Linked DNA regions of Homo sapiens: regions 2 and 3 are each linked to region 1. The links are contacts of gene promoters, found by promoter capture Hi-C in human tissues and cell types (Jung and others, 2019). All regions are on one chromosome and are shown on one strand. Each heading gives the region's core, a stretch centred on a gene start or on the middle of the fragment in contact. The rest is flanking DNA. Distances are from core to core; before and after follow the strand shown.

Region 1 (4,200 bases), core at 1-2,500:
GTGCCTGGCCCTTATCCACAACTCTTAAAGTAGGTGCTAATATTTGCAGTAAGTAGATGGAGATGGCTTATCTTTCGCTGAGTTAGCTTGGTCTGATTTGAGCTGGCAATACACTGCCTTCCAGGTCATTGTCCTGCCTGTGGGTCTTTGCACATCCAGACCACACTTCCTTCCTCTTTACCTAAATCTACCTCTTTCTCATCCTTGGAGAGAAGTATTTGCACCCTTCCTTTGCCCTCAGTCTTTCTTTTTTATTTTTTCATTTCATTTCATTTATTATTATTATTATTATTATTTTTTTTTTGAGACAGAATCTCACAGTCACCTAGGCTGGAGTGCAGTGGAATGATCATGGTTCACTGTAGCCTCAAACTCCTGGGCTCAAGCAATCCTCCCACCTCAGCTTCCCGAGAAGCTGGGACTACAGGTGTGCACCAACAAGCCCGGCTAATTTTTGTAGGTCTCGCTATGTTGCCCAGGCTGGTCTCCAACTCCTGGGCTCAAACGATCCTCCCGCCTTGGCCTCCCTAAGTGCTGGGACTGTAGGCATGAGCCACCGTGCCTGGCCATGCCCAATCTTTCTTACTGCAGTTGGTGATACATGGTTTTTGTTTTCTCTATACATGTATTTTTTGGTGGTGTGTTTAATATCTGTCTTTTCCCAGACTGTCGCCTCCGTGAAAGCAGGAACCTTGTCAGTTTTCTCTCCAAGTTATCCCTCCAACGCCTAGCACAGTGCCTGGCAAATGTAGGAGCTCAACAGGGTTTGCGGAATTATTATGTGTATGTCTGAAGGAAGGATGTTGGCAGTGCGCCCAACGTGTGAGGGGAACCCCACTCTCCAAGGTTCCAGTGGCTTTAAAGGTGTCCTCGAGAAAATCAGAGGAACAGGGGGATGCTTGTTTTCCTTCCTTCCTTCTCTCTCTCTCTCTCTCTCTCTCTCTCTCTCTCTCTCTCTCTCTCTCTCTCTCTCTCTTTTTTGCTTTAAAGTATGCTGAAAGGACACTTTAAACCAAGTCTGAATGGCTCGGCAGGACTGGGGCGCGGGTGCTGGCAGGAGCCGGAGAGGCGACATCTGGCCATGGGAGCATTTGTTTCAAAGTTCAAGGCCGTTCGCTCAGGGTCAAGGTTAGTCCGGCGGGCCGTTCGGAGACCAGCCCCAGCGTGCCAGGACCGTTTCCGGGGCCTGGCCGGGGCGTTGCCGCGGGGTCGGGGACCAGCACGAGTGCTGAGTCACGCCCCGCCCGGGAGCGCCTCGGGTCAGTAACTCGGGAAGACGACCAAGCGGGAGCGGGAGCGGGAGCGGGAGCCGGAGCGAGAGCGCGCGGGCGCGGCCGACAGGTGAGATCGCGCCGCCAGGCGGGCTCTCGAGACCCCGGGCGCCCCGGGCGGGACCGGGACCCGGAAGAGGGGCGAGCGGATTAGAGGCCTGGCTCACGCCGCGTCTGGCGTGGGGAGGTCGGTGCGCGCAGTTGTGGCGCTGCGAGGAGAGGGATACTCGACTCAGGCCCGCCCCTCTCTGTCTCCCCCAAAAAACGCAACAGGGAGATGTGCTCCTGGCCGAGGGCAAAGAAAACTCCACCCTCCTGGTTTGGCCCCTAAATCCCTGCTAAGTTTTCCTAAGGAAGATGGGCTTAGGCCGGGAAGGGCGAACCGGGGAAGAGGGAACACGGGGCGGGTGTAACCCGGATCTTGCGAGGACCGTCCGAGGGTCCGCTGGGTAGAAGCGGCCGGTCCGGACAGAAGCAGGTGTGAGAGGAAAGGGAGAAACCTCAGTCTCTAAGAGGAAAGAAACTGGAGTCAACCCAGTGCCCATAGGCTCGGGGGAGCTGGGGGGTGCAGCACTAGGAAGTCTGCTTCTCCCTTCCCGAAGCCCTGGGTGCTGCAGGGACAAAGACCAGCGGTGAGTAAACTAACTCTGATGGGACGCGTGCAGTCCACCTGGAACTGAATTAGTGGCCTATATTGGGGCTCTCCTTCCAACACCACCTGATCAACACACCCTACCTTTCCCTACAAGGAGAGTCTTTTTGACCCTGGAATTTAAGGTGAGGATGGGGAGTGGTGAGGTCTCTTGGGGGCTGATGATCCTGTAGGAGGACAGGCATAGGGCAGAGAGTCAGATATAGTTTGGGATGGGACTTGCAGGTTTCTGGACTGTGCACCTGTGTTCAAAAGCCTGTATCAGGTTCCAGTGTGCGTGCATGCACCTGCCAGAGAGCCCCGGGATCTCAGATCACACCTGCCCTCACCCCAGCACCTAGAGAGGAGTTCTCCAAGGAGCACAGTGTGTCACCAAGAAGAGGGCACTGAGCCCCAGCCAGGGTGGGCTGGGCAGGCTTAGCACTACCTAGCCCAGAAGTGATGGGCTGGGCAGGCCGGTGGACTCCAGGGCCAGCCTGACTTTTGTCTGGTGGCCAAATGAAGCCAGCGTCCAGGTACAGGTGGTGGGCAGACCATGGGGACCACAAAACTGGCTCTGAGGAGGATGGACAAATTGCTTGGCCTAGGTTTTCTGTGCGGGAGTGAATATGACATCCAGATGAACCTGTCTGCCCCAGAGCTGCCCTCCCCTGGGGATAAAAGGAGGCTGCCTCCCTTAGACTTTGAGTCCCTTTTCAGAAACTGGTCTTTTGGGGGTTCTGTTCTTCAAGTAGTCCCTGAGGGGCTGGCCATGGAGTGTCCCAGGAAGGGAGGCCGCCCAACCGTCTCCATCCTGCTGTGTCCCGCAGGTGGAGGAAACCTCCATGGTGCTGTGAGTCGTGCTGTAGTGGCCTTCTTATCCGGGACGGCCACTCTGGGAATGTGGCTCTCCAGAGGCTGATGTTGAAACCTACCCTTTGTGTGAGCCATGACGACTCAAAAAGCATCGTGTTTTATTTGTAATATTTGTGAAGCAATACTGGAGCAACTCTGGGATGACATTCTTGCTTTGATCAGAGCCCACACGGTTCCTGCTGTGTGTCTTCTGAGGCACAACCTCTGAACAGCTTTGGCATAAATGTAACTTCCTGGTTTTTCAGTAGTCCTATGGGCTGCTTATTGTGGAATAATACCCTTGAGATCAGGGTGGATGCTCTTGGCAGAGAAAACAGGATTGACTGAGCAAATTTTTGTGTAAATCAGATTGTGTGTGTGTGTGTCTGTGTGTATGTGTGTTGTGGCAGGGAGCAAAGGTAAAGTTACTGAGGGGTTCCTGGACAATCAGGGTTTGTTCCGCTCTCTTAGGCCTTCTTTTAAGCTAACATTCTTGAACCTAGACAGACATAGTTAAGATTCTCTGTGATTCCCACTGGGGCTTTGGTGTTCAGTTCAAAATCAGATGGTGGATTTAGCAGTTCCTCAAAAAGTTAAACTTCAAGTTACCATATGACCCAGCAATTCCATACCTAAATATATACTAAAGAGGACTGAAGACTGGTTCACACAAAAACCTGTACACAAATGTTCATAGTGGCGTTATTCACATAGTCAAAAGGTGGAAACAACCCAAGTGCCCGTCAGCTGATGAGTGGATAAACAAAATGTGGTCTATTCATACACCAGTAATGGACTGTTTTTCAGCCAGGAAAAGGAATGAAGCACTGATAACATGCTACAACTCGGATGAACCTTGAAAACATGATGATCAGTGGAAGACGTCGCAAACAAAAAGCCACATAGTGTATAATTCCATCTACATGAATTGTCTAGAACAGACAAATCTATAGAGACAGAAAGAACATTAGTAGCTACCCAGGGCTAGGGTAGGTGGGGTACAGGATTTATTTTGGGGGTGATGGAAGTGTTCTGGAATTAGATAGTTGTGATGGTTGCACAACCTGGTGAATACACTAAAACCCACTGAACTTACATCTTTTTTTGAAATTTAAATTAAAAAAAATTTTTTTTTGAGACAGAGTCTTGCTCTGGCGCCCAGGCTAGAGTGCAGTGGCATGATCATGCCTCACTGCAACCTCGACCTCCTAGGCTCAAGCGATCCTCCCACCTCAGCCTCCTGATATCAGGGACCACAGGCATGTGCCACCATGCCTGGCTAATTTTTGTATTTTTTGTAGAGATGGGGTTTCACCATATTGCCCAGGCTGGTCTGGAACTCCGGAGCTCAAGCAATCTGCCTGCATTGGCCTCCCAAAGTGTTGGGATTAGAGGTGTGAGTCAGCCTACATCTCATTTTTTTTTTTTAAAAGATGGGGTCTC
Region 2 (3,957 bases), core at 1,322-3,821, 37 kb after region 1:
AAATGGCCCAGCTTCCTCAACAAATGAATTGCAAAGAAATAAGAAAGAGATGAAGGAGGAACCTATGGTATAAGAGACTCATCAACCAACTGCAGTGCGTGGACTGATTTGGATCCGAAATCAAATAAACAAATTTTCTTTCTTTCCTTTCTTCCTTTCTCTCTCCCCCTCCCCCTCCTTCCCTCCCTCCTTCCTTCTCTACCTTCCCTTCCTTCCTTTCTCTCTCTCTCTCCCTCTGCCTCTCTCTTTCTCTCTTTTTCTTTCCCTCCCTCCCTCCCTCTCTCTCTCTCTTTTTCTTTCTTTCCTTTCTTAATTTCTTGACATGGTCTCACTCTGTGCACTCTGTGGCCCAGGCTGGAGTGTAGTGGTATGATCACAGTTCACTGCAGCCTAGAACTCCTGGGCTTAAGTGATCCTCCCACCCCAGCCTCCCACCTTAGCTGGGAGCACAGGCATATGCCACCAAGCCTGGCTAATTTTTGTATTTTTTGTAGAGATGGGGTTTTGCCATGTGCCCAGGTTGGTCTGGAACTTCTGAGCTCAAGTGGTCCGCCCACCTCAGCCTCCCAAAGTGCTGGGATTACAGGTGTGAGCCACCGTACTCGGGCCCCCCTTTTTTATAAGAGATGAGGGTCCCACTTATATTGTCCAGGCTGGTCTCAAACTCCTGGGCTCAAGCGATCCTCCTGCCTCAGCTTCCCAAGTAGCTGGGACTACAGGAGTGTGCCACTGTGCCTGGCTTAAACAAATGTTTAAGAAACTTGACATTTATGATGTAACTGGAATTGGAACACTGGTAATTTGTTGATATTGCTATCTTTTTAAGGGTACAATAATGGTATTGTGGCTGTGTTGTTAGTAAACAGCCCTTATCTGTTACAAGTCATTGTGAAATATTCATAGATAAAATGATGTCTGGAAGTATGTGGAGGGGGTAAGAGCTGAAACAAAGGTGGCCATGGGTGGTGATTATTGCATCTGATTGCATAGGGTTTCATTATACTTTTCTGTTATTTTTTGTGTATGCTTGACTTTTCCCATAATAACATAATGTTTTGAAAAGAGTAAGACAGGGCCTTGGCTGCTGGGATGATTAGTTTGGGTGATGGTGGTGGAAAATGGAATCGTAATGGGAGGGACTCCTCCTAACACAGCAGCAATAAAACCACTGTCAATTACTAACTGCCTAGGAGCCCAGCACTGTGCTAAGCCCCATCACAGCACCCCTATGGGACAGGTACTATTGCTATCCTCCCTTACAGAGGAGGAAACGGAGGTTCAGGGAGGTTTAGAAACCTGCCAAAGGTCAGCTAGGAAGCAATTCAGAAAAGCTGGGACAGTCCAGGCAGGCCGACCTGGAACCTGCCCTCTTAACCACCTGACTGCCTTTAGCCCATTTCTCCTCCCAAGACCCTGAAGCGGTTGGCCTTAGAATCCACTGCTGGGATCTGAGCGTGAATTTTTGCTCCCAGACCAGTGCTCTTTCTACTCTGCCACCATGCCAATTAAAAAAAAGAAGCATATTATTTTTCTTACATAAAAATTTCATTACTATAGAAATGTGTAAAGTATGAACACTGCAATGTGTCAGTGAGAGGCAGGACACCTATTAAAAGAGCTCCAGATGAAGGCTACTAGAGGGCGTCCTTCCATGGAGAGTGGAAGGAGACCTGTTTCTCTGTAATGCTGACTTTTCCCAGGGCTGTCCTATCTCCTTTTCAGCACAGCAAGTGGCCTCTGATGCCAGGAGGAAGCCCTGAGTGAGTCCAGCTGCCTGGGGCCCCTGGTGCTACCAGCCAGGGCTGAACTACTAGCATCTACCTCAAATTGCCTCCCTCACAGGCAAGCCCTGTACCCTAGAGACAAAGCCCCTTCTTTGCTCACTTTACCCTTTCCGTGGAGAGTTTAAGGCAGTTCTGCTTGGTAAAAATGGATGGGATGGGGACTGTTAGCATGCTGTTATTTCCAGCGCCCATAACAGCTTACCCTCCCAAGCTCCTCCACCCTGGCTATTAACAGCTCCCTCTGCCACTCGTGGGACAGGTGGCAAACCACAGGCAAAAATAACTCAATGCTCATAGCTTAATGGACAATCTAATTTTTTTCTAGATGTCCATTTCCCTTTTATCAATAGCACTCTCAATATTTAAGCTTACGATATATGTAAACATGTACAACAATATTTATAGTAGCACTATTCACTATAGCTCAAACTGGAAACTACCCCAAATGTCATCAGTGGTAGAATAGATCAATAAACTGTCATATATTTATAGAGTGTAATACTACAGAGCAAGGAAAATGAATGAATACAAGCATACTCAACGACATGGATAGATTTCACAATACTAAGTTGAGCAAAAGGAGTCGGACCCAGAAGAGGACAAGATTTCATTTTTACAAAATTCAAGACAGATGAAACCCATCTCTGCTTTGATAAGAAAGGACAGTGGTTACCCTTGGAGGAAATACTGACTGGGAGTGGGGCTGAGGGAGACTTCTGGGGTGCTGGTAAGGGTCTGCTTCAGGATCTTGGTGCTGGTTGCAAAGTGGGGTTCACTTTGAGAAAAATTCATCAAGCTCTATGCTAATGATTTGCTTTTACACAATACCCCAATAAAAATTTCAAAAATATATGCAGAATTAAAACAAAGTTAGCTTCTCTCTAGTGAAACTGTTCAACTACACATAAAGACAGAGCTTGACATGGGACCCCAGCGGAGGGACAGCCAGTTGACAATGATCAGCTTCACAAGAACTTGCCTGAACAGTGGCCTATTCTATGGCACTTCTACTGAAGTCTCAGGACCTTACCTATATCTTCTTTGAGGTCAATTTCGGCTGTGGTTGGGTGGACAATGCCCTCCACTCTCATGGAGCCAATATGGCTGATGTCACTCTGGGTTAAGGACAGCTGCATTAGGAAGAAAAGGTGGTGAATGTGGAAAAGATAAAATTCTGTTGAAAAATCTCATATTTTACTTGCATTCATTAATTCTCTTTAATTATTCATACCCAATGTCAACATAGGGGCTGCATAGAGAGTGACAACCTCCAGTTTCCCAGGTGTTTGGCTTGCAATAAGCTCTTTGAGCTCAGTGGATTTGCTTTCCACTCTGGGGCTGGCAGCATGCAACAAATCCATTTCTTCTTCCCTGGAACAGGAACAGGGCCTCCCCTCTCTTTTTTTTTTTTTTTTTGAGACGGAGTCTCACTCTGTCTCCCAGGCTGGAGTGCAGTGGCGTGATCTCGGCTCACTGCAAGCTCTGCCTCCCAGGTTCACGCCATTCTCCTGCCTCAGCCTCCTGAGTAGCTGGGACTACAGGCGCCCGCCACCATGCCCAGCTAATTTTTTGTATTTTTAGTAGAGACGGAGTTTCATCGTGTTAGCCAGGATGATCTTGATCTCCCGACCTCTTGATCCACCCGCCTCTGCCTCCCAAAGTGCTGGGATTACAGGCGTGAGCCACCGCGCCTGGCCCCCTCTCCTTTCTTTCTTTCCCTTACAGCTCATGCCTTTGGTTCCCAACCCTGGTGGCCTTAGTTTTCAGTGATGCATCTTCTGAGAAGCTCCTGCAAGGAAGCCCAGGGCTTGCTCTCTCTTCTCCCCTCAGCATCCTGCATTCTCCCTAGAAGAACACAAAATCTGTGGGGCAGGGCTCTGAAGCCAATAACCTTGCTGGAGAGAAGTAATGGGCTCTGGGATTCTGACCTGGGGGTGTCTGGCTCCCTTGCCCTTTGGAGACCACAGTCTTGGGGCTACCATTGGGAATTGCTATCCTATGTGTTCACAGTAGAGTGGAATGGAGGGCATTCTCTATTGTTGGCCCATGTGAGCAAGACCTTTATGTTGCCTTAGCTAAGTGAGAGAAAGCTAATCGTCATGTAACAGTGAACAGGCCAGAGAGGGGACATAAATTCCACCTCTTTGTTTCCCTGCTTTCATCAGTGACGAAT
Region 3 (4,170 bases), core at 858-3,357, 61 kb after region 1:
AGATTTCAATTTTCTAAAGCATCTGATAACTCCATTACGACCAAGGAGACTATATTAAAAGCTCTGAAATTAGCAACAAAGCCCTTTCTCAACTCTCACCTGTCCCCGAGGTGAATGATTCAAGTTTGGGGCATTTTAGTATATACTTCATATACATTATTTAAAATGCTCATATGTACTTACTACTCCCCTATTTTATACTTCATATGTCGTTTTGCCACCAAAGGATGTAGCTATTCATCAGTTAGGTACAAGCAAAGATGAGAGAAGTGCCTTAGACTATTATCTCTTTGACTGCAAGGCCCAGAGATCAGGCAATGTTGCCATGTTGTTTTATCACGTTGTTTCTTCATCTGGAAGAAACAAGATCTCCCACCTTTGCCGTGCTGCTGCTGTCTGTGGCTGCTCACTCTCATAAATCCACTTGTAGGGGTTTTCTCTTTGAGGAAGCAAGCAACTATGTGTTAGGTAAATGTATGGAGGGCCTGCTGTTAGTCAGCCCTGTCGCAGGAAAGAGGGGAAACAGACAGCATTGCTAAGTGGTCCCTGTCCTCACATAGCACGTGTTTGCTAGCTGGGTTGTGGTGCTCTAAATGGAGGTGGCTCTTGCTATAGTGGAAGGAGCCCAGGACTGCGGAACAGAAAGTCCTGGGCATAGCGCCGCTTCTACATAACTACAGTCATGCACCCCACAATGACCGCATATGACGGTGGTCCTGTATGATCATAATGGAGCTGAAAAATTCCTATGCCCTAGTGACATCTTTTTGTTGTTGTTGTTGTTGTTTGGGAAGGAGTCTTGCTCTGTCCCCTAGGCTGGAGTGCAGTGGTGCAATCTCGGCTCATTGCAACTTCTGCCTCTGGGGTTCAAACGATTCTCCTGCCTCAGCCTCCCAAGTAGCTGGGACTATCGGTGTGCACCACCATGCCTGGCTAATTTTTGTATTTTTAGTAGAGACGAGGTTTCACCATGTTGGCCAGGGTGGTCTCAAACTCCTGACCTCAAGTGATCCATCTTCCTCAGCCTCCCAAAGTGGTGGGATTACAGGTGTGAGCCACCACACCTGGCCAACCTAGTGACATCCTAACGGTGTAGCACAATGCCTTACTCATGTGTTTGTGGTGATGCTGATGTAAACAAACCTACTGTGCTGCCAGTCATATAAAAGTCTAGCACATATAATTATGTATAGTATATAATACTTGATAACAAATGACGATGTTACTGGTACTCCTTCTACTTATTAAAAACAAAGTAAACTGTAAACCAGCCTTAAATGGATCCTTCAGGAGGTATTCCAGAAGGAGGCATTATTATTACAGGAGATGACAGCTCCGTGCGTGTTATTGTCCCTAAAGACTTTCCAGTGGACAAGATGTGAAGGTGGAAGACAGTGTTATTGATGACCCTGACTCTGTGTAGGCCTAGGCTAATGTGTATGTGTCTTATTTTTTTTAACAGAAGTTTAAAAAGTTAAAAAAAATTTTAATAGAAAAATGCTTATAAACTTAAAGTATAATAATAATAAAATAAAAAAAGAAAAATGCTTATAGAGTAAGGCTATAAAGAAGGAAAATATGTGTAGTAGCTGTGCAATGTATTTGTGTTTTAAGCTAAGTGTTATTACAAAAGAGTCAAAAAGTTTAAAAAGGTTAAAAAGTTTATAAAGTAAAAAAAATTACAGTAAGCTAAGGTTAATTTATTATTGGATAATTTATTGGAAAATTTATTATTGGGTAAGGTTAATTTATTATTAAGGAAAATATTCTCTTTTAAATGTAGTGTAGCTAACATGTACGGTATAAAGTCTACAGTAGTGTACAATAATGTCCCGGGCCTTCACATTCACTCACCACTCACTCACTCACCCAGAGTACTTCTAGTCCTGCAAGCTCTATTCACGGCAAGTGCCCTATACATGTGTACTGCTGTTTACATTTTATACTGTATTTTACTGTCCTTTTCTAAGTTTAGAGACACAAAAACTTACCATCACCATTGCCTGCAGTATTCAGTATGGTAAGATGTTGAGCAGGTTTGTAGCCCAGAAGCAACAGATCATAGGATTATAGCCTAGGTGTACAGGAGGCTGTACCATCTAGGTTTGTGAAGTCCACTCTATGCTGTTTGCACAATGACAAAATCACCTAACGATGCATTTCTCAGAACGTACCCCTTTCGTTAAGTGATGCATGACTGTAGTTATGTGAGCTTCATATGTTATTTATTTGGACCTCAGTGGCCTTCTCTGTAAAACAGGGCAGGTGGCTAACATCCTTACAGTTGTTCTGCTCTTAAACATCCTGATTTTTCTGAAAGGCACTTTTCAATGATTTTGGTAGAGAAGCTTAGGCTCTTTAAGCAGTCGGTTCTAAAGACTTAAGAGCCTACACAGGCTCATAAAGGTGCATTAGTGACTCTCCTAAGCCAATTATGTGCTTTTCTCAGTTAATGGTAAGTGGGATTGGAGGATGATTACTAAGTCTGGTTGTCAAGAAACCACCTGAAAAGCCCATCACAGGGTGGACGTGCTCTGTGAATATGGTGTGTGCTGGCTGGTCTTAATCTCTCCCTACCATGCTTCCACCAGAGAATGCTGCATGAAGTACAAACACCACAAGGGCAGGGACACCCCCTGTGCACACGCGCACACACACACACACACTCATGCACATGCACACGCGCGCCCACACACGCATGCACGTGCACACGCATACATGCACGCGCTCACACACACACACACATGCACATGCACACAGACACACACACACACACACACACTTTCCTCAAAACAGCCAGAGAATGACTAGGTGTGCAGGATAAAGCCATTTAGGGACTTTCCTACTATTAGCTGCCAAGAGAAGTCACAAACTGCCCTAAAAATTGGAACTTAGGACTAGGAGTATAAGAAAAGCAAGTGACTTTAGGGGACGGATGCCTAAAACACTCAGGAAGAGGCCAAGCGTGGTGGCTTACGCCTGTAATCCCTACATTTTGGGAGGCTAAGGTGGGTGGATCACCTGAGGTCAGGAGTTTGAGCCTGGGCAACATGATGAAACCCCGACTCTACTAAAAATACAGAATATTAGCCGGGCGTGGTGGCGGGTGCCTGTAATTCCAGCTACTCTGGAGGCTGAGGCAAAAGAATCACTTGAACCCAGGAGGAGGAGGTTGCAGTGAACCGAGATTGTACCATTGCACTCCTGCTGGGCAACGACAGCGAAACTCCGTCTCAAAAACAAACAAACAAACAAAACTCAACACTCATGAAGATAAAATAGCCAAGTAAGGAAAATCAAAGTAGGAACAAGTAGAGAAACATACCACCTGCACATTGTAAAAAAGTACCTAAATGTAAGAATCATCCTGAACATGGTACTTTATAATAAGTTTTTCCCTCTGTGGCTTCCAGACTTCCCTCTAAGTGAGGGCCTTAGAGGAAATCCCCCTGGGTGGGGGATGCAGCTCCATCTGAAGTCTAAGTGTGAGATGGACTGACTTATGCATGTATTTTAAGCAGGACTGGAGAGTCCTCTATGCCTGCCAAACCCATCTTTTCAGGTCTTGTGCGGAATTTAAGCAGCCAGGCACCTATCTCCCAGGCCCTCCTGGGGACTCAGGGCTGTGAGGTCCCTGGACACGGACAGTAAGAATTAGAGCACATCCAGGAATCCCTAGGGGAAGCAAGGAGGGGCTTATGGAGCTGACATGTTACATCTACCAGAGCCCACCGACGGGAGGAAGTGCTGAGCCTCTGGGGCCACTCCAGAGAAGACCCTGCTTTCTAAAGACCACCTCTCCCCAAAGCCTGTGCTGGATTATGCCTGGAGTTATGATAAATTATAACCCTGAACTTCCTTCTTTCCCGGGCCACCCTTTCCTCCAACTCTATTCCGTCTTGGGAAGTCAGGAGTCAAAAACTTGAATGGGTTTTTATCCACATCCTGGTAATTGGAGTCTCGGTGTAGGCCTACTGTCTAAAAAGAACCATTGCAAGGTGAAAATTTGTTTTCTTCAGGCTAATATTAAATGTTTACATTTAAGTATTAGCCTGAAGGAAACAATTTCTGCTCTAAGACAATTTCCCTCTGATTAGGCAAAGCTTAAGGACTACAATACACTAAGTTTACATGTTTGGAGAGAATATGGCTGGACGCAGCTCTTGGTGT

The links. Contacts are between HindIII fragments. The study calls those that stand out against the background at their distance.
Region 2: a fragment that was not itself captured here is called in contact with the fragment with the promoter of AIFM2 in region 1 in 1 of the 25 tissues and cell types used here (IMR-90 fibroblasts).
Region 3: a contact is called between a fragment that was not itself captured here and the fragment with the promoter of AIFM2 in region 1, in 1 of the 25 tissues and cell types used here (H1 embryonic stem cells).

What each region holds. Positions count from the first base shown.
Region 1 is chr10:70,129,875-70,134,074 of GRCh38, reverse strand. AIFM2 (AIF family member 2) reads left to right here and starts at 1,250. Exons shown (of 9, transcript NM_032797.6): 1 at 1,250-1,341. RefSeq lists silencers at 1,076-1,395, 1,228-1,437 and an enhancer at 959-1,459. The HindIII fragment of the contact is 11,395 bases long and covers 1-4,200 here.
Region 2 is chr10:70,094,611-70,098,567 of GRCh38, reverse strand. It overlaps MACROH2A2 (macroH2A.2 histone), which reads right to left. Exons shown (of 9, transcript NM_018649.3): 6 at 2,815-2,914. Among named protein-coding and RNA genes, the nearest start is that of AIFM2, 36 kb to the left of the region's middle. The HindIII fragment of the contact is 4,428 bases long and covers 358-3,957 here.
Region 3 is chr10:70,069,575-70,073,744 of GRCh38, reverse strand. All of the region lies in intron 1 of MACROH2A2 (macroH2A.2 histone), which reads right to left. Among named protein-coding and RNA genes, the nearest start is that of MACROH2A2, 19 kb to the right of the region's middle. RefSeq lists an enhancer at 2,187-2,686. The HindIII fragment of the contact is 6,286 bases long and covers 1-4,170 here.